7 separate regions of the Homo sapiens genome follow, and regions 1, 2, 4, 5, 6 and 7 are each linked to region 3. The links are contacts of gene promoters, found by promoter capture Hi-C in human tissues and cell types (Jung and others, 2019). All regions are on one chromosome and are shown on one strand. Each heading gives the region's core, a stretch centred on a gene start or on the middle of the fragment in contact. The rest is flanking DNA. Distances are from core to core; before and after follow the strand shown.

The links. Contacts are between HindIII fragments. The study calls those that stand out against the background at their distance.
Region 1: a fragment that was not itself captured here is called in contact with the fragment with the promoter of ZNF704 in region 3 in 3 of the 25 tissues and cell types used here (aorta, heart left ventricle and mesendoderm cells).
Region 2: a fragment that was not itself captured here is called in contact with the fragment with the promoter of ZNF704 in region 3 in 9 of the 25 tissues and cell types used here (adrenal gland, aorta, dorsolateral prefrontal cortex and 6 more).
Region 4: a contact is called between a fragment that was not itself captured here and the fragment with the promoter of ZNF704 in region 3, in 2 of the 25 tissues and cell types used here (heart right ventricle and thymus).
Region 5: a contact is called between a fragment that was not itself captured here and the fragment with the promoter of ZNF704 in region 3, in 2 of the 25 tissues and cell types used here (hippocampus and mesenchymal stem cells).
Region 6: a contact is called between a fragment that was not itself captured here and the fragment with the promoter of ZNF704 in region 3, in 2 of the 25 tissues and cell types used here (dorsolateral prefrontal cortex and psoas muscle).
Region 7: a fragment that was not itself captured here is called in contact with the fragment with the promoter of ZNF704 in region 3 in 2 of the 25 tissues and cell types used here (H1 embryonic stem cells and dorsolateral prefrontal cortex).

Annotation. Positions count from the first base shown.
Region 1 is chr8:80,940,797-80,944,719 of GRCh38, reverse strand. No RefSeq gene overlaps it. Among named protein-coding and RNA genes, the nearest start is that of ZNF704, 68 kb to the right of the region's middle. The HindIII fragment of the contact is 8,896 bases long and covers 1-3,923 here.
Region 2 is chr8:80,963,761-80,967,463 of GRCh38, reverse strand. No RefSeq gene overlaps it. Among named protein-coding and RNA genes, the nearest start is that of ZNF704, 91 kb to the right of the region's middle. The HindIII fragment of the contact is 4,980 bases long and covers 1-3,703 here.
Region 3 is chr8:80,873,170-80,876,944 of GRCh38, reverse strand. It overlaps ZNF704 (zinc finger protein 704), which reads left to right and starts at 2,164. Exons shown (of 9, transcript NM_001033723.3): 1 at 2,164-2,374. RefSeq lists a silencer at 3,285-3,485. The HindIII fragment of the contact is 4,011 bases long and covers 154-3,775 here.
Region 4 is chr8:80,802,728-80,806,449 of GRCh38, reverse strand. The region is part of intron 2 of ZNF704 (zinc finger protein 704); the gene reads left to right. Among named protein-coding and RNA genes, the nearest start is that of ZNF704, 70 kb to the left of the region's middle. The HindIII fragment of the contact is 3,589 bases long and covers 142-3,722 here.
Region 5 is chr8:80,781,273-80,785,062 of GRCh38, reverse strand. All of the region lies in intron 2 of ZNF704 (zinc finger protein 704), which reads left to right. Among named protein-coding and RNA genes, the nearest start is that of ZNF704, 92 kb to the left of the region's middle. The HindIII fragment of the contact is 4,698 bases long and covers 1-3,790 here.
Region 6 is chr8:80,984,903-80,988,787 of GRCh38, reverse strand. It overlaps PAG1 (phosphoprotein membrane anchor with glycosphingolipid microdomains 1), which reads left to right. Exons shown (of 9, transcript NM_018440.4): 6 at 1,322-1,418; 7 at 3,411-3,885. Among named protein-coding and RNA genes, the nearest start is that of ZNF704, 110 kb to the right of the region's middle. The HindIII fragment of the contact is 9,585 bases long and covers 1-3,885 here.
Region 7 is chr8:80,758,864-80,762,662 of GRCh38, reverse strand. All of the region lies in intron 2 of ZNF704 (zinc finger protein 704), which reads left to right. Among named protein-coding and RNA genes, the nearest start is that of ZNF704, 110 kb to the left of the region's middle. The HindIII fragment of the contact is 4,568 bases long and covers 1-3,799 here.

The DNA of each region.
Region 1 (3,923 bases), core at 1,300-3,799, 67 kb before region 3:
TTTGTCCCCAGAAAAACTCATGTTGAAACTTGATACCCAGTGTGGTGGTTTTAGGAGGCAGGGCCTAGTAGGAGATGTTTGGGTTCTTGTGGCAGATTCCTCGTGATACCTCAGCAGTAAGTGAGTTCTCACTCTCACAGGAATAAATTAGTTCCTATGAGAGCCAGTTGTTAAAAAGAGTCAGGCCTGTAATCCCAGCACTTTGGGAGGCTGAGGTGGGATGATTGCCTGAGACCAGGAGTCTGAGACCAGCATAGGCAACAAAGCAAGACCCCAATCTACACACACACTATATATATGTATGTATTTTCCAGGAACAGTGACAGTGCACCTGTAGTCCTAGCTACTGTGGAGGCTGAGGCAGGAGGCTCCCTTGAGCTCAGGAGTTGGAGGCTGCAGTAAGAGGTATTATTGTGCCACCATACTCTAGCCTGAGTTCAGAGCAAGACCTTGTCTCTGAGAAAAAAAAAAAGTGTTCTGGCTTCCTTCATTTTGCTCTCTCTTCTTCTCTCACCATGTGATTTCTTGCACAACCCACTCTGCCTCCATTTTCTGCTATAAGTGGAAGCAGCATGGCAGCATGGAAGACCAGATGCAGCTGCCCAATCTTGAACTTCCCAGCCTGCAGAAACATGAGCTAAATAAACCTATCTTCTTTATAAATTACCAGCCTCAGGCATTCTGTTATATCAATGCTAAATGGACTATGACATCTAAGTAATTCCTACTCAAGTCTCACATCGCCACTGGGAGCTCTCCCTGGTTCCCCAGGATAGGTTCACTCACTGCATGGTACCATGTGCTTACCTTTGTATGAGCACTTATCATGCTGTATGCTAATGTGATTATTTTCTCCTCCCCCAATGAAACTGTCAAATCAGACCCAAGTCCTAGTGCAACACATGGTTGAACAAATGACTTAGCATATAAATTCCATGAAGATAGATATTTTTGTCTATTTTATTTGCTGCCGATCCCCAGTATCCAGAACAATGCTTGGCACATACTAGGCTCTCAATAAGTAATTGTTGAATTAATGAGTGAAGAAATTAATGAACGAACAAAAAAATCCAGGCATAGTCTTGGACATGAAGAGGGAGCAAGGAGGTTCCCTACACAGTCCTCTCTGAGCAGCTCTTTCCCAAGCACATGGAAAACGAACCAGCAAATCTAAGGTTGTATGTTTGTGGAAGTGCCTTAAATCTTACACCGATGAACCCTCTCCAAAAGTGCAAATATGCACATTCCCAACACTGCTATAAAGATAGGAAGTGAGATAAGAAGAGGCAGCCTGTGTTGCCACATGTGGATTCCAGATGTTAGTTGGACTAGCTTGGCCCATAAGTGATAGATGAGGTCAGTTTGACCCTTTTCCATAGCCTGCAGAGATTCAAAATCTAGCAAAAAAATGTTTTATTCTCATGGTCACTGCTGGCTCTGCCTTATGGTTTTTCAACCATGATACTTAATTATTCAAAACACAAACCAAAAAATCCAGCTCTTTGTATTGTTTTAGTATAATAGACTTTAAGTACTTGTGGGATGTGAGGGAGGGAGGCTTGCAGAGTGTGGGAGGGAAAGGGAGAGCGGGGGATGGGATTTTTAACAGCTACTTGATGAGTTTTTAGTCCTGCCATGTCTTACATTTTCATTAAATTTCATTTAATTTTTGTTAAGTTCTGTGTGTATGTGTGTGTGTCTGTCACACACACACACACACACGTATAGAAAAAATGAAATTCCCGTTTGTCTTTTTAGTTCACTGTCACCTTTTATCCCAAGTGGCTTACGAAGGATAATCTACCTTAAAAGGTTTTAGTAAAATAGCTCTTTTAGAACCTTTTACTATGACCTGGCATTCTTATGCAAATATAAAAATTATTTAAGTAAAAATTAAAAAGAACCTTGACTGCAGATAAGGATCTTGCCTCTTATTGGTATCTGCATTTCAAAAATGCATATTCTTGAACTAAACTTGGCCCATCTGCTGGCTTTTCAGAATGAGGACTTTCCCAGATAGCTTATTGACTTCATCTGCTCCCAGCCCCTGCTTAGTCTGCCTGGTGCCTCCAGATGTGCTCAGGTGCCCTCATCCTGAACATCACAGCCTCCTTTTTGCCTTAGACCTCAATTACAAACATATAAACCGATATGTTTCAACCAATACACTTTGTAATTCATTTCAAACAAACCAAACCACATAAGTAATAAGTAAATTTAGCAAGATTGCAAAATGCTAGGTCAATATACAAAATCAAGTGTATTGCTGTATATGACCAATAAAAATTTGAAAAATAAACTTGTAGGAAAAGTCATTTATGAAAGCATAAAAATACAAAATATTTAGGAATACATTTAACAAAATACGTATGAGACATATAAGCCAAACACTATAAAATGCTGATGAGAGAAGACCCAAATAAAATTAAGAGATATATAATGTTCATGAATCAAAATCACTAAGATATAAGCTCTCCACAAATTGATTTATAGCCCTAATGCAATCCTCATCAAAATCCCAGAAGGATGGTTTTGTGTAGGAATTAACAAGCTGATTCTAAAATTCATACCCTAAATCAAAGAATCTCAAATAGCCAAATCATTTTATATATTTAAAAAAGTATAAAACTGATTTTACACTCCTGGATTTCAAAACTTACTGTAAAGCTACATAATCAAGAAGATATGGCATTAGTGAAAGGATAGACTTACAGATCAATAGTACGCAACAGAAACAGAGACACATGTACAGAGTCAACTGACTTTTGACAAAGACACCAAGATAATCGAATAGAGAAAGGATTTTCAACAACTGATGCTGAGACAACTAGATTCTTATGGGGAAAAAATGAATATTAACCTTTATCTTAAACTAAACACAATTAACTCAGAATAGATCATAGACCCAAATGTAAAATCTAAAACTATAAAATTTTTAAAGCCAGAGAAAATGTATAAGGTCTTAGAGTAAGTTAAAGTGAACACATGTGTCAGAATTCATTGAACCTTACTTTTAAATTAGGTACAGTTTATTTTACATGAATTGCACTTCAATACAGTCGACCAAAAGAGAAAAAATATGCATTTGGTGCTTAAATGAATTATTTAAATGAATAATTTTCCATTATCTTTTTTGCTCTTTCCTTCTGCTTTAGCCACATTTGCCTTCATTCTAGTCTCCACCTCAAAGCCTTTGGTCTTGCTGTTCCTGTGCCTGGAATGTTCTACTGACACCCACCACAGGCCTGGTTACTTCTCATCATTCAGGCTTTGGTTCAGATGGGATCTCCACAGAGAGGACTTTCCTGCTGTCTTAGATAGTCCATGCCATGTTCACATCTGTCTCCTGCCTCCACCAGTCAAGCTCTATCCTGTTTCTCTGTTTGTTTTATTAATAAAATAAGAATTGTTGACAATAAGAGTACATTGGTTTATTGAGTTTATATATCCACCACTGGAATGTGAACTATGCAAGGGCAGGAACTGTCTCTTCACCACTCAATCTCTAGCACTTAGAACAATGCTTGGCACAAAATAGGAATTTATAATTTTTTTAAGATAAATGAATAAATGGATATTATCCACACATTTTACCAGTATTAAGTTTTCCTTGTTCCTTATTAATTTCCAATCAATGAGATTGTTACTGCACCTGCTATTCATATTTATAGATTTCCTTTGGGTCACCAGTGACTTGCTTTCTCATACAAAGTACATCATTTTAATCTTAGTTTGGGAAGCTTCTATGTAAGTATTAGACATCCTTATTTCCCTGCATAAATAGCCAAGTTGGAATCAAATTATTCTTTGTGCCCTAATACAAATGCATGAAGGGGAGAATTCTCTGAGACCTTTAAAAAATTCAAGATGACAACTGTGTCTAGTTTCTGTTTACTCTGGCATTAAAACCTTCCAAGATTTCC
Region 2 (3,703 bases), core at 1,149-3,648, 90 kb before region 3:
AGTGCTCTGTGCATGGTAAGAGACCATCTTCACAAAAGGGCTGGGAAATTTTTGATGGCATTTACCCACACTTGCCAAGCACTCCTATGAAGATGTGCAACCTGAGAGCAAATAATTCCCCAGGCCAAGAGGAAAATCCATCTGCTTGTTGTGTGAAGGGGATGCAGCCCCAGCAGGATGTCTCAGAGCAAATGACTTTAACCACCATCTGACCTGGCTGCCCCCTTCCTAGTCACTTAAGACTGGCCTTGGGGCCAAAAGGCGAAGCAGTGAGAGTTTTCTTTGGCATGCTCCTGTCTTATTTTTGTCTGTGCCCTGTAACTACAGGACACCCCAAACCCCCAGATTGCCTCTTTAACACCCACCACAACCCAGCCTCCCTTTCTGAGATTTTTCTCTGCTTTCTCCTTCTGTTCCACCCCATCTGCACCATTATAAATACTCACCCTGTTCCATATTTCTCCAGGGACTAGCCCGCTTATTTCTACCCAACTAACTGTTCCTGTACAGTGAGTGAATATCCCTCCTACTCCGAGGACTGTTTACAGTTGTTTAAGGAGCTTGCTGCCTATCACAGTCTTGAGCAAAACCACCCTTCACTCTCATGGGCACGGCAAACTCCTGAGAGACTGCTGGGAGTATTTGGGCATAGAAGAGAGGACAGAGGCTCCCGCAGATCACACGCCACATCAGCAAATGCCTGCTGAGCCCTCACAGAGGCCGTGCCTGCTGCTCCCTGTCAAAGGGTCTCATCTTGCCTGGTTGCTTCCTTGCATGTGATGTAATGATAGCAACCTAGAGGCAGATGTGCGTAAGGGCCTGGCCATCTTGGTTTCAAACTCTGGCTTCATTTCTCACCACACGGGCAGAACTTTCCTTTCCCAGAGTATTAATCACAACTCCATTCTGTGTGTGGAGGCTCAGCGCTAAGAAATGTTTGTTCTGAGTCTTTGGAACACAGATCCTGGTTTCCCACCTGGGCTGTCTGGGGAAATGGAAGCTCCAGAGCTCAGCAGTTTCGAAGGTTCCCTGTCACCTGTAGAATGGAGCACTCGCCTCTTCTGTCAGAGGTGGGTGTACTGCCGATTCTAGGACGTAGACATTTACCAAGTGCTCATTAAGAGGACTGGAGAATTCTGATACCCTAGTTAAGGTGAGCCAAACAGTCCAGACTTTATCATTTTTTTTTTAAATGTTTCTCCTTGGGTCCATCTTTCTACCTCTGTGAATACAATCTGCAATACGATTTTTTTCAGTTTTGAAGAGTTATCCAGGACCTTACTGTACTTTTGAGGTCGCCATTTTGAATGTTTGCTCCCATCCTAGATGATTCTTAAAATCTCAAGGCTGGACCTCGGCACTCCAAAGCCAGCTGTCTCCCAGGCATCACATCTGTTTCCACAATGTCTCCCTCGGTATGTCCCAATGTAAATGTGGTTGTTCTGGAGTGGAATCATCTTTCCGAGCTGCCTTGTTTGCTCTTCAGGGCACATTAACTTTGAAATATTCCCCGTAGCATACACTACAATTTCCTGCACACAGCAAGCACTAAATAAATGTTTGGTTTGATTTGAATTCTCCTACCTTTCTATCATCCATAATCTTACAAGCCTGTCTTGAACTAGTGCCTACGAATCTTAGGATTTCATACTTGAACTCTTCCCCCACCGAAAGCTTCTCTGTGACTGTGAATTTCTGAAGAGATGCCAGGGTAACAAGATAGGGATATCCTCCAAGTCAAACCAGCCCAAAAAGCAGTGGCACGGGGAAGAAGGCAGACATCTGACATGCAGATAAACAGCACCACAATCTGGCAGAGTGTCTTCTAAAACAGACACGTCATTCAAAGCAACAGCTTTAAATGTTTAGGCCCAAAGGAAAAAAAATTAATCATCGCAACATCAAAGTAGAAAAGCAAAGTTAACAGGAAAACAAAACAAGCCACAGGAAAACCAAATATTGATTCATTCCATAAATATTTGCTGAGTATTTACTATGTGCCAGGAGCTGAAACAGGGTGAGAGAGAAGAGACAGAACTCCTGCCTCATTGGAGCTCACATTCTAATGGCCTTAGTGCCTACCTTTAAATGTTTGACATACACGTTTAAATTCTCAGGGTATTCAGCATCTCAATGTCTCCACTGATTGTACCAAGTCTCTGGAGATCCACTTTACAGAGAGGCCTCCAGAAAGGCCTCTATGAGCAGGTTACATTTAATGTGAGACTGAAATAATAAGCCAGTGAAAGAAATTCCAGGCATGGTGCACAGCCAACGCCAGGGCTCCAAGCCAGGAAAACCTTGATCTTCTCACACAAGCACACATAAATCAATAACGGGCCAGCTTGCCAGGCCTCCGGCATGTCTCCTTCTCCACCATTCCTGCCCTTGTCCAGCCAGTCCCCATCCTAAGTCACTCTGTAGCACCTCAAATCAACCTTCCGTACTGTTGCCAGTATTATCCATCTAGAAAGCAAGCCTGTTTGGATCAGGAGAAAAGTACAGACTAATCACTAATTATTATCTACTATTTCCCGGGCACTGTTCTAGATGTTGGGGATACAGCAATAAATAAAACAGCTAATGGTTTCTGTTCCAATGAAGCTTACATTCTAGCAGGGGAAGAAAAATAATTAATCAAACCAAATTTCAGATCCGAAATGTGATGAGTAAAACAAAATGGAATAAAGTTAATGAAATGATGATAAAATAGAGACTGCCTTGGTTTGTTAGGGCAGGAAGAATGATACCTTTTCTACTGGGTGGTCAGGGAAGGCCTGAATGACTTGGGGCATCAGTATAAAACTTGGGGAGAAAAACATTCCAAGAAGAGAAAATAGCAAGTGCAAAGGCCCCAGGGAGGAAAAGACACTGGTATGTTCCTGGACCACAAAAGAAGGCAGGGTATCTGAACCACAGATAGAGTCACAAAAAAGGGAAATATGAGAGAGAGGCAGGGTCCAGATTCCACAGAGCAGAGTAGATCAAATCAAGAATTATACTGTGATAGCCCAGGCACAGTAGCTCATGCCTGTAATCCCAGCAGTTTGGGAGGCTGAGACGGCCGGATCACTTGATGTCAGGAGTTTGAGACCAGCCTGGCCAACATGGCAAAACCCCGTCTCTACCAAAAGTACAAAAATTAGCCAGCGTGGTGGTGCACGCCTGTAGTCCCAGCTACTGTGGAGGCTGAGGCCGGAGAATGGCTTGAACCCAGGAGGCAGAGGTTGCAGTGAGCCGAGATCACGCCACTGTACTCCAGCCTGGGTGACACAGCAAGACTCCATCTCAAAAAAAAAAAAAAAGAAAAAAAAAAGAATTGTACTGTGATATTAGGAGCAAATAGAGGCCACTGAAAGATTTTAAACAGAAGTTTGGCAAAAATTGGTTTTCCATATGAAACATAACATAATACTTGAGGCCAGGAGTTTCAGACCAGCTTGGGCAACACAGTGAGACACTGTGTACAAAAATCATTTTTAAAAAATTAGCTGGGCATGGTGGCACACACCTGTAATCCCAGCTACTTGGGAGGCTGAGGTAGAAGAATCACTTGAGCCCAGGAAGTTGAGGCTGCAATGAGCTATGATTCTGTCACCGCACTCCAGCCTGGAGAACAGAGCAAGACCCTGTCTCAAAACAAAACACATACGAAAAGAAAATAACAAAAAAGAACATAAAATTGAATTCCCAACTTACACCA
Region 3 (3,775 bases), core at 915-3,414:
AGGCACAAAAAGCTACATGCTTGGCCTGACCATGGTCCTCCGATGACAAGTTGTTGGTCTTTAAAAGCACATTTTGCTAGTTACTGACATTACTGAGCTTACTTAAAAGAGAGCTACCTTGTTATTCTCTGAGAGTATCCCAAGCCACCTTGTTTACCTACCATTACAATGTTTAGTATGATAAGCCCGCATATAAACCCTAGCTTGTCCCAGGCACTCTTGTAAGCTGATTGCATTTATTCACTCATTACTCTGCAAAACAACTTTACTACTATGATCCCCATTTCACAGATGAGGAAACAGGCACAGAAAGAGGATGAGTAAAAGTAAAGCTGGTAAGTTCCAGAGTCAGGATTCGGACCTAGGTGCTCCTGAGACCATGTGCCTAACTACTAGCCAGCTTGCCTCACACCTTTGTCCTCCTCCACCTCCTCCATACCTGTCTGCCCACCCCTTGCCCCGATCTTTCCTTTTCATGGCCAGAGAAAGATCCTGCTGCCTCACTCTAAAATCATCTCCCAAATCAACGAAGCTAAATTTCTTCCAATTGGGATGAAACCACCTTAATGTTCTTTCTTAATTCTTTGCACACTCTAGCTGATACTGATTATTCACTTATTGGCTAGCCCCTGCTATTCCATGCTTTGATCAGACACACCCATCTCTTAATGTTCTGTTTTCTTCTCTCTGAATTCCTGAACAGAATATTTACAAATATAAAGTCCAACAAGAAAATGGTGTGATCTAAATGGGGTTTCGGAAACATAAATCTGGTGGTGGCATCTGAGGAGGGAAAGGGAGGGTGTGTGGGTGAGAAAATGGGTGTGTAGAACTGTTAGAAACTTCCACTTTTGAAGTCACAAAATGCTGTAAGAGCTTTGGGAATGGAAAGGAAGGGGTGGATTCAAAATGCATTTTAGAAAGAACAATGGGTTGGACTTGTGGGCAATTGCCTCTAGGGATAAGGTAGAGAAGGGAGTTAAAATGATACCGCTATTTTGGGCTCAAATGATTATAATGAGAGTTTCATCACCTGAAATAGGTACATCAGGAAGCTAATCTGATTCAGGGAGAACAAAAAGTTCATTTTAGAATCTTTGTCATCATCCCTGTTCAACAGTTGGAAGCCACCATAAGTGAGCATTTAATGAGCCCCATTCAAGTGTCTAACAGAGCATATGATGTTAAATGTCCAACAATAATTAACTGAAGGTGAATACACCTTTTATTCTGGCCCCACGGAGGTGCCTACCAGGGTATTTGATGCGTAAGATCCTCCCCAGCCCTCCTCTACAGGGATGGAATTGGGGGTATGATTTGAATGTAAGAAATACGACTTAAGGCCGGGCACGGTGGCTCACACCTGTAATCCCAGCACTTTGGGAGGCCAAGGCAGGCAAATCATCTGAGGTCAGGAGTTTGAGACCAGCCTGGCCAACATGGTGAAACCCTGTCTCTACGAAAAATACAAAATTAGCATGGCATGGTGGAGCGCGCCTTTAATCCCAGGTACTCAGGAGGCTGAGGCAGGAGAATCGCTTGAACCCAGGTGGCGGAGGTTACAGTGAGCCCAGACCATGACATTGCACTCCAGCCTTGGCAACAAGAGCGAAACTCCATCTGAAAAATAAAGAAATATATATAAATAAAAATTAAAATAAATAAAAGAAGAAATACCACTTACTACATAGCCTAACCCCACGCAATAGCAAATATATTTTCTTTATCACACCTAAAAATCGTCAGAAAATGGCAAAATTAGTCATGTTATGTGCTTGATTTCCAGATTTGGTCTTACTTCATATTAATTTCTTAAGTAACCAACTCAAACGATCTTGAACTCCCACCCATTTGTTTCTTCAAAGTCCTGAACAATGCCAGAAGAGAGTCTACAGATCAGACAGTGCAAACAGAAAGCTTCTTGGAATTCAGCCATTAAAATCAGGCACTCAAGGTAGAATAGCAGGAGTAAAAGCTGAAAGACCTACACACTCAGCACAGAGCCAAGGCAGCTCAATCGCAGGGCCTAGAGTGGTGCGTTCAAAGAGTGTGAGATTGGTAGACAATCGCTCATGAAACAGTGTTTCGAAAATCTAAGCGACTCTGATGATTCATATTAGGAATTCATCCCAAACCTCAGATTGGTACACCTTCCTTGATTTCACACAAGCTCAGGAGTAGCTGCCATGCACATCAGTGTCCATTAAAATGACTTGTAGCAAATCTCTACGTTCAAAGTCTAACTTTGACAGACAACCTTACTTCCAGCGAAGTCTACTCCCCTCCCTCCGGAGGGAAGAATGGGCTGCGGTTAAGCGTTTGCCCTGGTGTCAGGGCCAACTGCTTCGAAGCGCCAGACTTTCGGAGACTGTGGGTAAGAGAAAAAAAAAATCCAGTCCGGGTTTTGTCTGAGCGGGGGGACCGGAGGGTTGTGAGGAATGGCTCGCGAAGAGGGGGGCGGTGGTGGAAAACATACAACACAAACAGCTCGCGCCGAGGCACGGCAGCGGTAGGCCCGGAGCGCGCGGGCGCAGCCGGCCGGGAGAGGCGCGCGCGGGCTCGGCCGCCGGCCGCATGGAGCGCAGCGCGGCCCGCGGCTCCCGGGCGGCGGCGGCGGCGGCGGAGGCGGCAGCGCGCCGCTCGCTCACACCCACCCCCGCCCGCGGCCGCCGCGCCGCCCCGCCGTAGCCGCCGGCCGCCGGCGTCCCCGCCGGCCGGTCCAGCGAAGGCGGCGCCCGCGCCTCTGCAGCCAGTGGCAGCCGCGGGTCCTGGCCGGCGGCTCCTGCAGCCCCTTGCGGCCGCGAGTCCCCGGCCCTGCGGCCACCGGCGGAGGCAGAGGAGGAAGAGGAGGTGACAAACTCTCCGGCCCCGCGCCGCGGCCCGCAACCCCGCGCTCAGGCATGCAGGCGCGGCGTCTAGCCAAGCGCTCCAGCCTGGGCAGCCGCCGGGGGGGCGCCGCGCTGCAGCCTGCCGGGCCGGCGCCCGCGCCCGCCAAGGAAGCCGCCCTACCCGGGCTCCCGCCCCCTGTCCCGGGCCCGGCCCCGGCGCCCGCCCCGGAGAGCTGGAGGCCGCCGCTGCCGCCGCCGCCGCGCAGCGCCGGGACCGGCCCCCCTCGGGCCACCGGGGCCGCCGCCGCCGCCTCGTCGCCGGTGCTGCTGCTTCTAGGGGAGGAAGACGAGGACGAGGAGGGCGGGAGCAGGCGGCGGAGGGGGCTCGGGCGTGTGGAGGAGAAGCCCCGAGGGGGCGCGGAGGAGGAGGATGACGACGAGGAAGAGGAGGACGAGGAGGTGGTCGTCGAGGTGGTGGACGGCGACGAAGACGACGAGGACGGCGAGGAGCGTTTCGTGCCCCTCGGACCCGGCCACGCAGTCCCCAGGGGCCCGGCCCGGGGCGCGTTGAAGGTGCGTGTTGGGCGCGGTGGCGCGCGTGGGACCCGCCAGCCCGGGGAGGGGGACGGGCCCGGGCCCCGGGGCAAGGCGCCTGGCCGAGGACGGTCAGCGGCGCCGGGGAGAGACCCGGCCAGGAGGGGTGTGTCAGGCGGCGCGGGCGGCCGCGCGGGGCAGCGCGAGGAACTGTTGATTTGCCTGCGCCTTGGGCCCCTGCGTCTCTCCCAGGCGGCGGCTCCCGCTTTCCTCAAAGGCCGTGTCGGGTTTGTTGTTTGGTGTGGGTGCCGGGAAAGGGCGCTTCTCCCCAGTGAGGTGGGGAACTTGGGTGATGGGACCACGGAGGCGCCGGTTCGTGCCCGGTGGGGACGGGTGAGGCAGGGGAGAGTGAG
Region 4 (3,722 bases), core at 687-3,186, 70 kb after region 3:
GCTGGAAATGAAATGGGATATTTAGTCCAGATAATAGCTGTAAAACATACCAGGCATCCCATTGTATATGTTGTGAGCAGTGTTGACTGTGATGGTCATTACGTGATGCCAAGGTCAGGTTTTAGATCTCACGGAGCAAAAAGAATTTTGAGCATCTTGAACATCATCTGCTCCATCCCCCTTATTTGAAAGATGGGAAAATTGGTTTTTTAAAAAAATTAAGACTTTGGGTTTGAATAATGGACTTAATACATTTTCAAAGCTGATTTTTCAAACTTTACCACATTTTCATTTATGAGGCAGCACTTAAGATTCATCATGCACGACTTTCTGTGCTGATGTGCTAATAGTCTTCCTTCTTGTTTGAGAAGAAGAGATGCTACTTTCTGCTCCATCCTATGAAACACACCACCTGCTTCACCAAGCTGGAATGTGGTATTTTTCCACTGAGGAGTACGCTTGTTTTTGCAGGCAGAACACAGCAGTGCTGTTTGAAGACACTGATGATGGCAAAGGATCAAAGGTGGGAGGCGATGGCAGGTGGCAGCTTAGGGAGAGATCAATGCAACCAGTGTGGTGCATTGCTGTCTGCAGACGTACAGGAGCCAAGTGAGAATCCTAGGGTGAGGGAGGACAATTAAAAATCAAAGTCAGGCATATTTTCATGTAAATCTGACCATGCTAGGAAATAACAGGGCACTTTTACCATAATCAGAATTATGATCAATCTTGGAAAATGTGATGCTTAATTTGATAGGTAGAACACCAAACCATTTATCTTTGTTTCTTATTCCTGTGCCTTTTGGACACTAAAAGCAAATGAACAAATTTTGTTAAAATTCATGAGAAAGAAAAAAAGTAAAAATCCTACAGTGAAAAAAAGATATCTAGTTTTGTATGTTCATTCCTTGACTTTCAGGGACTTTCTACATTTCTCTTAGGTAAGTGAAATTATTCCCAAGTAATGTTTCCTGTTATCTAAGAAAAGATGTTAGCTCAAGGCTGGGTCCCCCATAATTCCAGAATTGATAAGGCAGTTGATGGCTATAGTGACTTGTCACCAAAGACCCTGGAATTGAGTAGGTATGGATTCCAGGTTGTGTGCTTGGGAATATGATGCAGTATCTTACCAAAAAACAGGAATTTTCTTGCTCCAGTTTGTTCTCCATGTTCCCCAGAGCTACAGCATCACAAGCTAGAAGTGCTAGGGAAAAGCAGGGGATGACTACTTAAAAGGCAATAATAATTTTGTTAAGTGACGAGATGGGTCCCCAAGCTTGAAACTTGCACAACAGTCAACTAATTGGCCTGTTGATGAAAGGTAAGGTTTTATGTACCTAGTCCTTGCCTACTTCAGGGGTAAGATATTTAATTTTTACAGTTTGATAATGACATTTATAGTTACATTTGAGTAGCATTCTAAAAGGAAGAGTAATAAACCCTAGTAGTCACTACCATTTGTCTGCAATGATGATTAGAAATAAGGAATTAATAGAAAAATCAAGTAGTATACCACAGGTCCCTCACCCCACCAATCTATGATGAAATTTTCAGCCAGATGAACAGCTTTGCATTTTTGGTGTTAAAATGGCTTTTTTTTTCTTCAACTTCTATTTTAAGTTCAGGGGTACATGTGCAGGATGTACAAGTTTGTTACAGAGGTAAACATGTGCCATGGTGGTTTGCTGCACAGATCATACCATCACCTAGATATTAAGCCCAGTATCCATTAACTATTCTTCCTGATGCTCTTCCTCCTCCCACCTCCCACTCTGACAGGCCCCAATGTGTGTTTTTCCCCACCATGTGTCCATGTGTTCTCATCCTTCAGCTCCCACTTATAAGTGAGAACACGATGTGGTGTCTGGTTTTCTGTTCCTGCATTAGTTTGCTGAGGATAATGGCTTCCACCTCCATCCATGTCCCTGCAAAGGACATAATCTCATTCATTTTCATGGCTGCATAGTATTCCATGGTATATATGTATCACATTTTCTTTATTCAGTCTATAATTGATGGGCATTTAGGTTGATTTCACGTCTTTGCTATTGTGAATAGTGCTTCAGTGAACATATGCATGCATGTGTCTTTATAATAGAATAACTTATATTCCCTTGAGTATATACCCAGTAATGGGATTGCTGGGTTAAATGGTATGTCTGCTTCTAGGTCTGTGAGGAATTGCCATACTGTCTTCCACCATGGTTTAACTAATTTACACTCCCAACAGTGTAAAAGCATTCCTTTTTCTCTGCAACCTCACCAGCATCTATTGTTCTTTAACTTTTTAATAGCCATTCTGAATGGTGTAAGATGGTATCTCATTATGGATTTGATTTGCATTTCTCTAATGATCAGTGATGTTGAGGTTTTTTTTCATATGTTTGTTGGCCACATGGATGTCTTCTTTTGAGAGGTGTCTTTTCATGTTCTTTCCCCACTTTTTAATGGATTTTTTTGTTTCTTCTAAATTTACTTGAGCTCCTTGTAAACTGGATATTAGACCTTTGTCAGATGGATAGATGGCAAAAAATTTTCTCCTATTCTGTAGGTTGTGTGTTCACTCTGATGATAGTTTCTTTTGCTGTACAGAAGCTCTTTAGTTTAATTAGATCCCATTTGTCAATTTTTGCTTGTGTTCTGATTGCTTTTGGTGTTTTCGCCATGAAGTCTTTGCCTGTGCCTATGTCCTGAATGTTATTGCCTAGATTTTCTTCTAGTGATTTTGTAATTTTGGCTTTACATTTAAGTCTTTAATCCATCTTGAATTAATTTTTGTATATGGTGTAAGGAAGGGGTCCAGTTTTAATATTCTGCATATGGCTAGCCAGTTCTCCCAGCACCATTTATTAAATAGGAAATTCTTTCCCCATTGCTTGTTTTTGTCAAGTATGTCAAAGATCAGATGGTTGTAGGTGTGCAGTCTTATTCCTGAGTTCTCTATTCTGTTCCACTGGTCTATGTATCTGTTCTTGTACCAGTACCATGCTGTTTTGGTTACTGTAGCCTTGAGGTATAGTTTGAAGATGGGTAGTGTAATGCCTCCAGCTTTGTTCATTTTACTTAGGACTGTCTTGGCTATTTGGGCTTTTTTAATCCATATGAAATTTAAAATAGTTTTTTCTAATTCTGTGAAGAATGTCAATGGTAGTTTAAAGGGAACAGGATTGAATCTAGAAATTACTCTGGGCAGTATGACCATTTTAATGATACGGATTCTTCCTATCCATGAGCATGGAATGTTTTTCCATTTGTTTAGTGTCCTCTGATGCTTTGAGCAGTAGTTTGTATTTCTCCTTGAAGAGTTCTCACTTCCCTTGTTAGCTGTATTCCTAGGTATTTTATTTTTTTGTAGCAATTGTGAATGAGAGTTCATTCATGATTTGGCTCTCTGCTTACCTGTTGTTACTATATAGGAATGCTAGTGATTTTTGCACGTTGATTTTTTTTTATCTTGAGACTTTGCTGAAGTTGCTTATTGGCTTGAGAAGCTTTTGGGCTGAGACGATGGGATTTTCTAGATATAGGATCTTGTCATCTGTAAACAAAGATAATTTGACTTCCTCTCTTCCTATTTGAATACCTTTATTTCATTCTTTTGCCTGATTGCCCTGGTCATAACTTCCAATACCGTGTTGAACAGGAGTAATGAGAGGGGGCATACTTGTCTTGTGTTGGTTTTCAAGGGGATGCTTCCAGCTTTTGCCCATTCAGTATGATAT
Region 5 (3,790 bases), core at 418-2,917, 91 kb after region 3:
ACATTAAGCAAATCAAGGAAATCTGAATACAGTGTGGACTTTAGTTAATAATGATGTATCAATATTGTTTCATTAGTTGTGACAAATGTATCTACTAATGTAAGATAATAGGGGAAACTGCATGGGGGCTGTATGGGAACTCCACACTATCGTCTCAGTTTTTCTGTCAATCAAAAACTGTTCTAAAAAATAAATTTTAAAAAATGTTTAAAGATAACTTGGAGAAAGCCTAGATGACCTTGGGTATGGTGATGACCTTTTAGAAACAACAGCAAAGACAAACTCCATGAAAGAGGCAGTTAATAAGCTGTACTTCGTCAAAATTAAAAACTTCTGCTCTGCAAAAGACAGTGTCAAGCGAAGGAGAAGACAAGCCACAGACTGGGAGAAAATATTTGCAAGGACTGTTATCCAAAATATACAAAGAACTCTTAAATCTCAAAAATAAAAAAACAACCCAATTAAAAAATAGGCAAAAGACCTGAACAGACATCTCCTCAAAGAAGACACGCAGATGGCAAATAAGCATATGAAAAGAGGTTCAACATCATATGTTATTAGGAAATTGCAAATTGAAACAAGAAATCACTATATACCTATTAAAATGGCCAAGATCCAGAACACTGACAACACCAAATGCTGATGAGGAAGTGGAACAACAGAAACTCTGAGTAGTTGCTGGTAGGAATGCAGAATGGTACAGTCACTTTGGAAGACAGTTTGGCAGTTTCTTACAAAACTAAACATATTCTTATCACTCAACTCAGTAATCACACTCCTTGGTGTTTATCCAGATGAATTAAAAACTTATATCCACACCAAAACCTGCATATAGATCTTTATAGCAGCTTTATTAATACTTGCCAAAACTTGGAAGCAATGACGTCCTTCAGTAGGTGAATGGATAAACTGTGGCACATCCAGAAATGGAATACCATTCAGTGCTAAAAAGGCAGGAGCTATCAAGCCACAAAAAGACATATGGAGTATGAGGACAGAGGGTGCTCAGCAAAAAAGAAAAGATATGGAAGAAGCTTAAATGCACACCACTAAGTGAAAGAAGCCAATCTGAAAAGGCTACATACTGTATGATTCCAACTATATGACATTCTGGAAAGGACAAAATTGTGGAGACAGTAAAAAGATCAGTGGTTGCCAGGGGTTGGAGGAAGGGAGGGATGAGTAGAGAGAACACAGAGGATTTTTAAGGCAGTGAAACTACCTTGTATGATGCTATAATGGTGACTCTGCCTGTCATTAACCCTTAGAAGGCACAATACCAAGAGTGACCCCTAGTGTAAACTGTGATCTTTGGGTGATAATGTCTCAGTGTAGGTTCATCAGTTGTAACTGTGTTGATCGATGTCGGCAGTGGGAAAGGTTGTACAGGTTGAGGGAAGGGGGAACATGGGAACTTTCTGTACTTTCCTCTCAATTTTTCTGTGAACTTAAAACTGCTCTAAAAAACAAAGTTTATTAATTCAAAAATGCCAATAAGAAATCTATGATGTCCCCTTCCCCCATTAGGCAAGCTGAATGGAAGTCACGTTATCCAAAGGCTACCCCAGTTGCTAGGAGAACATGGAGTCAGAACAAGAATGGACTTAAGTCAGTTGCTGGGCTTAATACCTAGGTGATGGGATTATCTGTGCAGCAAACCACCACAGCACACATTTACCCATGTAACAAACCACCACATCATGCACAGGTACCGCTGAACTTAAAAGCTGGGGGAAAAATAAAAAGAATGGACTAAAGTCACATAATTTAAATGTGTGATGGCTTCAAACTCCTACAGTTGAATGTTGTGGTCTTTCTTAGATGGACAGGCCTTCTCTTCTGGACAGGGCAGGCTAGGCAAGGCAAATGTTTGCTTCTGTCATCCTACTTTTGCTCCTGCTCCCTGTGGACATACACACCTCTGCTGAACACACATGTTCAGTCTGGTTATCTGGTTTCCAGGAGTGCAAATGTATAGACTTTATCCATTTATAGCCCTGACCCATTATGCTTTGATTTTGTAGTTTAACTTTCAAACCATGCCATTTCTGTGGTTTCCAAGTACAGTGCCCTTGAACAACACAGTTTTCAACAGCTCAGATCCACTAATATGTGGATTTTTTTCAATAAGTGCAGTCGGCACTCCATATGGGCGGGTTCCATGTCCACAACCAAACACCAATCAAAAATACAGTATTCACGGGATGCAAAACCCACATAGAGGGACGACAGGAGGATTTTGTGAGGATTTTGGTATCCTTGAGGGTGGGAAGCATCCTGGTGCCATTCACCTGCGAATACCAAGCAGCGACTGTACTTCCTCAAAAGCACTGCTGACAACCCAAGATCCCTCAGATGTCCTTAATGAAACCCTTTTTTCAGGCTCTTTCTTACCCTGGTCGTCCTCCTCTTCTGGTTACACTCCCATTACTAAATACCATTCCTACTATTGTATATTAACGTTCCTTTTAAAACCTAGTGCCTAGAATAGCAGAAGGACTCTACATATCATGTGATTATTTCAGAGTACAGTGGACTCTTGTATTCATCTGGACATCGTAATTGTATTAATGCAGCCAAAATTATATTAAGTACTTCAGCAGCCCCATCTCCCTAGCTCTTGTTGAGACTCTAGTTAAAAACATCCCTGAGGCCTTTTATCCTCTGAACTGCTGCATCACGCAGCTGCTTGTAAAGCCGTCTCTCCTCCAACTTGTGCTTTTATAATTGAATCTCTTTAAATGTAAATGCAGACAATTACATTTGTCCTAGTTAAATTTCATCTTGTTATTTCGAGCCCAGAGCTCCAGCTTGTTGAGATCTTATTGAATCTTGGTTCTGTCATGGATTTCTGTTATGCATACTTGCTTGTGTCTGCAACCCAGGTAGAGAGGCTTGAAAATAAATATATCCCAGCTGCGCTAACTCAAAGCAAGAGGTACTGAGAGAAGACAGCAGTGATGATTGCTCGGGGATGGGGAAGGCAACTGCCCATTCTCTAAGCAGTAATTTCCTAATATTTTTGGTGGCAGTTCACAGTTCAACATTATGAGATATAGCAAAAGCCATTTATTGCTAATTACATTTAACTGATGTCTATGAAGGACTATTCCTATACATTAGAGTGAATTTGAGACTATCTCCATCATTCTCCAGCCATTCTTCAGTGGGAGAAAAACGGTGGAATTAAACTAGTGGAAACAAGGCTTTCTCATCTAGTCCCAATCCAGTCGATAAGCTGTGTTTGCCAATCACTGCTCCAGCACAATGGCCCTCAGTTTATTTTTAAGTCTATGGCATGCCTGAAGGACCATGTTCCCATGAGTGACACCCTTCTGTAAATGTGGTGGCACATTATGGGCTGCTGTTTTAGAAGAGACTGCCAACTTGCTGGGGATTATCCTGGTGTATTCCTTTCTCTCCGGCTGGTTCGTGACATGTCACTGGCTTGAAAATTCTCAGCCCTAACATTTAAAGCAGCGATTCGCAAAGTGCAGCACTTTTAAGCTGAGGTTGGCAAACTGTGGCCCATAGACCAAATCTGGTTCACCACCTGTTTTTAGTACATCACTAAATGGTTGGGGGAAAATCAAAAGAAGAATAATATTTCATGACGTGAAAATTATATGAAATTCAAATTTCAGTATGCATAAATAAAATATTGAACACAGTCATGCTTATTTGTTTATGTATTGTCATTGGCTGCTTTTGCAAATAGTAGCAGAATTGAGTAGCTGTGACAGAGACTATATGACCCACAAAGCCTAAAATATTTACAGATATGGCCCTT
Region 6 (3,885 bases), core at 208-2,707, 110 kb before region 3:
CCTAAGTTTATTTGTAAGAATAAGAAAGATTTGCAGAGCTGGGCACAGTGGCTCACGCCTGTAATCCCAGCACTTTGGGAGGCTGGGGTGGGCATATCGCTTGAGGCCAGGAGTTCGAGACCAGCCTGAGCAACATAGCAAGATCCCATCTCTTATGGGAGCAGCCAGACATAGTGGTGCATACCTGTAGTCCCACCGATTCCAGAGGCTGAGGCAGGAGGATCTCTTGGGCCCAGGAGTTTGAGACTTCAGTGAGCTATAATCATGCTACTGCACTCCAGCCTGGGCAACAAGGTGAGACCTCATCTTAAAAAATAAATAAATAAATAAATAAAAAGTTTGCAGAGCTAATTTTCAGCATATTATTGTTTCTGTGAACCTAGCAGCCAGAGGCTTTGCTGGTTCTAAAATAGTTTCAGAAATCAATAGCCTTATCTATCTCTGACCAGATTTAAGTCTGTTCCCTTCACATGACAAAGGGTGATGCCTTTCCACGTTTCTCATAGCATGGCACACCTTTACCAATAATGATTTACAGCACCTGTGTTGTAAGGATGAGGCTGCTGTGGTCTTTTTCAACCAGTTCCCTTCCTGCCTTGAGCTAAGGGAATTGATATCTCACAACCTGCCTATAGCCCTGTGTAGGTCACCAGGCAGGAAGCTCTGCACATGGCTTTGGAAGATTCCCAGTGCCCCTAAGATTCTGGGACAACAGTGTCTAATAGAACTTTCTGCAGTGCTGGAAGTGTTCTGTATCTCCTATTGGATATGGTATCCACTGGCCACATGTGGCTATTGAGCGCTTGAAATGTGACTAGTCAACAAGGAACTCAATTTAGTGTATTTTATTTTACTTAATTTAAATCTAAAAACAGTAGCTCCCCTTAATCTGTAGTTTTGATTTCTGCAGTTTCAGTTACCCACAGTCAACCACAATCCAAAAATAGGTGAGAACCATACAAGATATTTTGAGAGAAAGGAAGAGCACATTCACATAACTTTCATTATATTATATTGTTTTATTGTCAGTGGTTATTGTTAAATTACTGTACTTATAAATTAAACATCATCATAGGTATAACATATATGGATAGGAAAAGACATAGTCTATATAGGGTTCAGTACTACTCATGGTTTTAGGCATCCACTGGGGGTCTTGAAATGTACCCTCTGTAGATAAGGGGGGACTATTATAGGAGATTCTGTTTTCTGTTTCTGCTGTTTTAATTTTTTGAAAAAGCCATGGATCTTCTCCTCTGCTCTGCAGTCCAGATTCTTAGCAATGTGATGCATTTGTTTTTGTTTTTGTTTTTGTTTTCAGCCTTCAGACAAGGAGATGTTCAGCCGTTCAGTTACTAGCCTGGCAACAGATGCTCCTGCCAGCAGTGAGCAGAATGGGGCACTCACCAATGGGGACAGTAAGTTCTGCAAAAACACCAGCTTTCCACACAGGCCTCATCACCTCTGGAAGTCCTAGGTTTCAAAATACATAGCTCAAAAAGTAGGAAATGTGTTATTGCTCAGTTTTAGTATTCCTAGCAGTTTTAGCAGAACCCCTCATTTGGATGAATACTGCTACTTATTAATCCACTTCTGTGTGCCAGGCATTGTTCTAAGACTGGTACATGTACTAATTCATTTGCTCTTTTAGTACATTTTAGTACATTTACATGTACTAATTCATTTACCCCACGAGATTACTGTTATTAATAATAACACTACTCTGTAAGATAGGTATTATTACTCCTCACAATTTAAAGGTGACAAAACTGGGCACATTGCTGCTGTAACAATATTACCACAAACCTCATGCCTTAAAATAACAATTTATTGACTTGCAATTCTGAGGTCAGGAGTCTGAAATGGGTCTCACTGGGCTAAAATCAGGGCATCCGTAGGCCTGTGGTCCTTCCTGAAGCCTCAAGGAGAATCCATTGGCCTCTCCCTCATTCTTCACATCCCTCTCTGACCCTCCCCCCTCCCTATTCACTTATAGGGACCCTTGTGATTACACTGGGCCCACCTGGATAATCCAGGCTTCCCTCTCATCCGGGAGTCATCTAATTAACAGCCTTAATTCCACCTGTAGCCCTAATCCCTCCATACCCTCCACAAAACATTACACATTCACAAGTTCCAGGAATTAGGAGACAGACATTTTTCAGGGTCGTTCTGCCTTCCACAGAGATGTTGCTAATTTGCCTGATATCATATAGTCAGCGGGCTAAGGATCTGTAGTTGGAACCAGGCAGTCTGATCCCTGGGCACGCACTCAGTCACTCTGCATAACCTCTGCATCATGCATTGTGTACTCTTGCTGATGGAAGGAGCAGCTAGGTTTCCTTCATGCTTTAGAGTTTACACCATGCTTTTACCTGAGGTAAGAGGGCGTCCTGTTACCCCTGTTTACTGATGAGGAAACTGTGGGGTAATCAGGACACCAGTGCCTGTTCTCTGTCTACCATGATGTAGACAACTAGAACCAGAGAGCAAAAGTTCACCCCCTCCGTGATGATCAGGGATTTAGAACACACAGGGGTGTTGGTAAGTTCAGAAGGATTGGGGGATCCGTTGTCATTTTTTCACATACCCCTTGGAAACACTATTTCTAATTCCCCCAGAGTGAGACACTAATGGAATAACTTGCTTACTTTGTGTCTGCATCCTAAGGGCAGGGCTTTCTGTTTCATTGAATGATGTGTCTGCAGCACCCTGCACCATCCCTGGTGCATGGCAGGCACTCACAACACGGTTGACAAAGGGACGACTGAACAGCTTCACACAATAGCATATCTGTGGCTGGCCAAGAATTTCACATTTGGTTTTTTTCTAATTTGAGGTAGGAATGTTGGTGGCGGGATGAGATGGAAGCAAGGTATGAGGTGCCAGTCCCTTTGTGCTAATGGCTGACGGGTGCATGTTTGCCCTGTAGTTTCTATTATGTCTGCCAAACAAAAGTCACCTGTGTGAAAGGGGGTGGCTACCAATAATTCCCTCCACACAGGCAGGGGTCAGTGGTGCTGGGGACTGTGGTCACTGCACATGCTGCCTTTCTGGTGTCCAGCCTCCCATAGTTCAGCGGCATCAAACTGGTCATCTTCTGGTCACATTGGACAATCTGCCTACAAGAGTCTCTCATTGGAGTGACATTAAGGAAAGTAATTGTGAACTACACTTAGAGCCAAGATAACTTATTAAATCTTGTATTGGGAAAGATATAATGAACAGCTTTATTTTAAACTGTGATTGAAGTAGGATACCAACTGATGGTCATAACAACTATAATTTGTGCCTGAGACTTAAATAAAAAGCACGCATCTTGATTTAACCTAACTTTATATTACCTGATTCTCGGTAATAATTATTGAAAGACTTGCCTTTCTCCGCTTTTAATGTGTGTGCTGCTTTAGTTCTTTCAGAGGACAGTACTCTGACCTGCATGCAGCATTACGAGGAAGTCCAGACATCGGCCTCGGATCTGCTGGATTCCCAGGACAGCACAGGGAAACCAAAATGTCATCAGAGTCGGGAGCTGCCCAGAATCCCTCCCGAGAGCGCAGTGGATACCATGCTCACGGCGAGAAGTGTGGACGGGGACCAGGGGCTGGGGATGGAAGGGCCCTATGAAGTGCTCAAGGACAGCTCCTCCCAAGAAAACATGGTGGAGGACTGCTTGTATGAAACTGTGAAAGAGATCAAGGAGGTGGCTGCAGCTGCACACCTGGAGAAAGGCCACAGTGGCAAGGCAAAATCTACTTCTGCCTCGAAAGAGCTCCCAGGGCCCCAGACTGAAGGCAAAGCTGAGTTTGCTGAATATGCCTCGGTGGACAGAAACAAAAAATGTCGTCAAAGTGTTAATGTAGAGAGTATCCTTGGAAATTCATG
Region 7 (3,799 bases), core at 782-3,281, 110 kb after region 3:
GCCAGGGCAGAATAATATGGTTTGGCTATGTCCCTACCCAAATCTCATCTTGAATTATAATACCCACATGTTGAGGTAGGGACCTGTAATCCCCACATGTCAAGGGAGGGAGGTGATTAGATAATGGGACCAGTTTCCCCCATGCTGTTCTCGTGACAGTGAGTGGGTTCTCATGAGATCTGATGGTTTTATAAGCATCTGGCATTTCCTCTGCTTGCACTTCAGTCTCCTGCCACCATGTGAAGAAGGTCCTTACTTCCCCTTCACCTTTCACCATGATTGTAAGTTTGCTGAGGCCTCCCCAGTCATGTGGAACTGTGAGTTAATTAAACCTCTTTCCTTTATAAATTACCTAGTCTCAGATATTTCTTTGTAACAGTATGAAAATGAAGTAATACACCTGCCAAACTATTCAGTCACTTATGACTTCTGCCCCTTCACACATAGTATCAATTTGCTATGTGATGTATTTCATTTTCACATCATGTCCAATACTGGAGGTATAAATTGTGTCAAGATTTTTAGAGACATCTAATTCATTTTATGCTTTTTTTTGGCCAATTTGACTTCACAAAAGTGCATTATCACAACATTGGGTATAAGCATTGTGCGCATATGTAGAAATATTGAAACTTCCTCAGTAAATGAAGATGTCCTTTTGTACACCTGCATTTGTTAAAGATAAAATTTCTTTAGATCTTGGTTCTTTGGGCAACTGCATATATGGTGGTGACCCATTGAAGTTTATTAACAGATCTCATCAAAAGACTTAGGTTATCTATCAAGGTATTTCAGATGCCACAGTTATAAAGCTGGGTGTACACAATTACCAACCACAGTGACTTTGTTTATACATTTTGCCTTTTGACCTATTTATGAATATGATTTGTCTTCTCATAACTTTTACACCCATGTGACCATTGTTAGTATACCTGAGTGTTTATGCTTACAAATATCTGTATATTAGTTCTTGCCTATTTTATTGTGTAAAGTGGCCTACAACATATTTTATCATGTTTTTAGATGTTTCTCAAATCTCCTTTTCAAAAATGTAAATAAATGTCTCAAGGAATTTTTATTAAGTTATTTTTTCAGAATTATATTTTCAAGATTTTGATCTCTCAGGATTGTGATTTCCAGGATTTTAGATGTTAGGGATTATGATTTTTGGGGATTTCAGTGTTCAGGATTATAGTGTTTAGGATTGTGTCTTTCAGGATTATGGCCCAAACCCCCAAAAAGGTTAAATTTATAGTTAGAATTTTTAGTGCCAGTTATTTGAGAGCACCACAAATGTCTGTGACACAAAGAAATTTACCTTTTAACCAATTGTACTAGTTCTTTCCTGCTCTATAACAAAATAGCTGAGACTGGGGTAAGTTGTAAAAACAGAAACTTATTTCTCACAGTTCTGAAGGCTGAGAAGTCTAAGATCAAGGTGTCGGCATTTGGTATCTGGTGAAGCTGCTCTCTGCTTCCATAATAGCACCTTCTTGCTGTGTCCTCATGTAGTGGAAGAGTGGAAGGGCAAGAGGGCCTCTGTAATTCCTTGCAGCCCTTGTATAAGGGTACTGGTACAGTTTGGATCTGTGTCTCCACCCAAATCTCATGTTGAATTGTAGTCCCCAGTGTTGAAGGTGGGGCCTGGTGGGAGGTGACTGGATCATGGGGGTGGATTTTTCATGAATGGTTTAGCACCATCTCCCTTGGTGCTGTCCTCGTGATAGTGAATGAGTTCTTGTGAGATCTGGTGATTTGAAAGTGTGCAGCAGTTCCCTGCTCGCTCTCTTGCTTCTGCTGTGGCCATGTGACATGCCTGCTTCCACTTCACCTTCTGCCATGATTATAAGTTTCCTCTGCAGAAACCAAGCAGATGCCAGCATCATGTTTCCTGTACAGCCTGCAGGACCTATGACTCTTTTCTTTATAAATGAAACCTCTTTTCTTTACAAATTACCCAGACTCAGGTTTTGTTTTTTGTTTTTTGGTTTTTTTTTTTTTTTTTTTTGAGATGGAGTCTCGCTCTGTCACCAGGCTGGAGTACAGTGACACAATCTCGGCTCACTGCAACCTCTGCCTCCTGGGTTCAAGCAATTCTCCTGCCTCAGCCTCCTGAGTAGCTGGGACTACAGGCGTATGCCACCACACCCAGCCAATTTTTGTATTTTTAGTAGAGACAGGGTTTCACCATGTTGGCCAGGATGGTCTCGATCTCTTGACCTCGTGATCCACCCGCCTCAGCCTCCCAAAGTGTTGGGATTACAGGTGTGAGCCACCGTGCCCGGCCAGGTATTTCTTTATAGCAATGCAAGAACAGACTAATACAGGTGCTTATCCCATCCATGAGAATTCAGCCTCATTAATCAAAATATCACACTGGATCTTAGGTTCCAATCTGTGAATTTTGGAGACACCTGTACATTCAAAACATAGTACCAAGTGTATTATTTATTACTGGATAACAAATTTCCACAAATTTAGCAGCTTAAAACAATACAAACTTATTCTCTCGTAGTATCTGTGGGTCAGGAATAGGGGCACAGCTTAGCTGGGTCAACTGCTCATCAGGGTCTTTCTCATGGGCCTAAAGTTAAAGTGTCAGCCAGGGCTGGATGCAATGGTTCATGCCTATAATCTCAGCACTTTGGGAGGCAGGGGCAAGAGGATCACTTGAAGCCAGGCATTCAAGACAGCCTGAGTAACATAGTAAGATCCCCATCTCTACAAAATGTATTTTTTTAATTAGCTGGGTGTGGTGGTATGCATCTGTGGTCAGCTACTTGGGAGGCTAAGATGGGAGGACTGATGGAAACCAGGAGGTTGAGGCTGCAGTAAGCCATGATCAGACCACTGCACTCCAGTCTGGGAAACAGAGCAAGATCCTGTCCCAAAAATAAAATACAGTGTCAGCCAGGGCTGGAGTATCATCTGGAAGCTCAAGTGGGGAGGGATCCTCTCCCAAGCTCACTTATGTGGTTGTTGGCAGGATCCACTTCCTTTTGGGTTGTTGGTCTGAGGGCCTTAATTCCTAGCTGCTATTGACTAGAGTTAGACCTCTCCTCAGTCTCTTGTTATGTGGGCCTCCCCACCATGACAACGTCATCAGAGCCAGCAAGGTGGAACCCCAGTCTGTATAGCCTAATTATGAAGGTGACACATCGTCACCTTTGCCATATTCTCTTGGTTACAAACAAGTCGTAGGTCCTGCCACACTAGTAAAGAGGGTATTAAAAAGGGTATGAACTGTAGGAGGTGAGATCATTGGGGGGCATCTTAAAGTCTGTTTGCCACACCAAAATGTTGATTTAAATATTACTCACCCAGTCCAAAGCTTGTATGCAGGTGTGAGATATTTTGCTAGTGGAAAAAAAAAAAAAAGGCCCTGGAAAAAAAAGCTCAGGCTTAACTATAATGTTACTCTAGGGTCCATCAAAAGTCTACAAAGCTGAACATTCTAGTTAACTGCTCAGGTGCCCACAGTCCCTAATCAGTCACATTAAAAGCTGTTGTGCTCATGTTTCTACTCCTTGCATTCCTAGTATAGTGTCTTATTCATGATAGATACTAAGTGCTGAATGGATGAATGTTTTTTAAATCTAGTGTTTCTATGTGATGGGAAGCAGTATAGTGTACCAGTTCAGAGCATGAACTTTGGAGTCAGAAAAACCTGGGATCACATGCTTCCTTTGCCACTTACTTGCTATATAACCTTTGGCAAGTTACTCAAATTCTGTAAGGCTCAGTTTCTTTCTCTGTAAAATGGGGATAATACTACCATATTTTATTACATCTAAGGCAC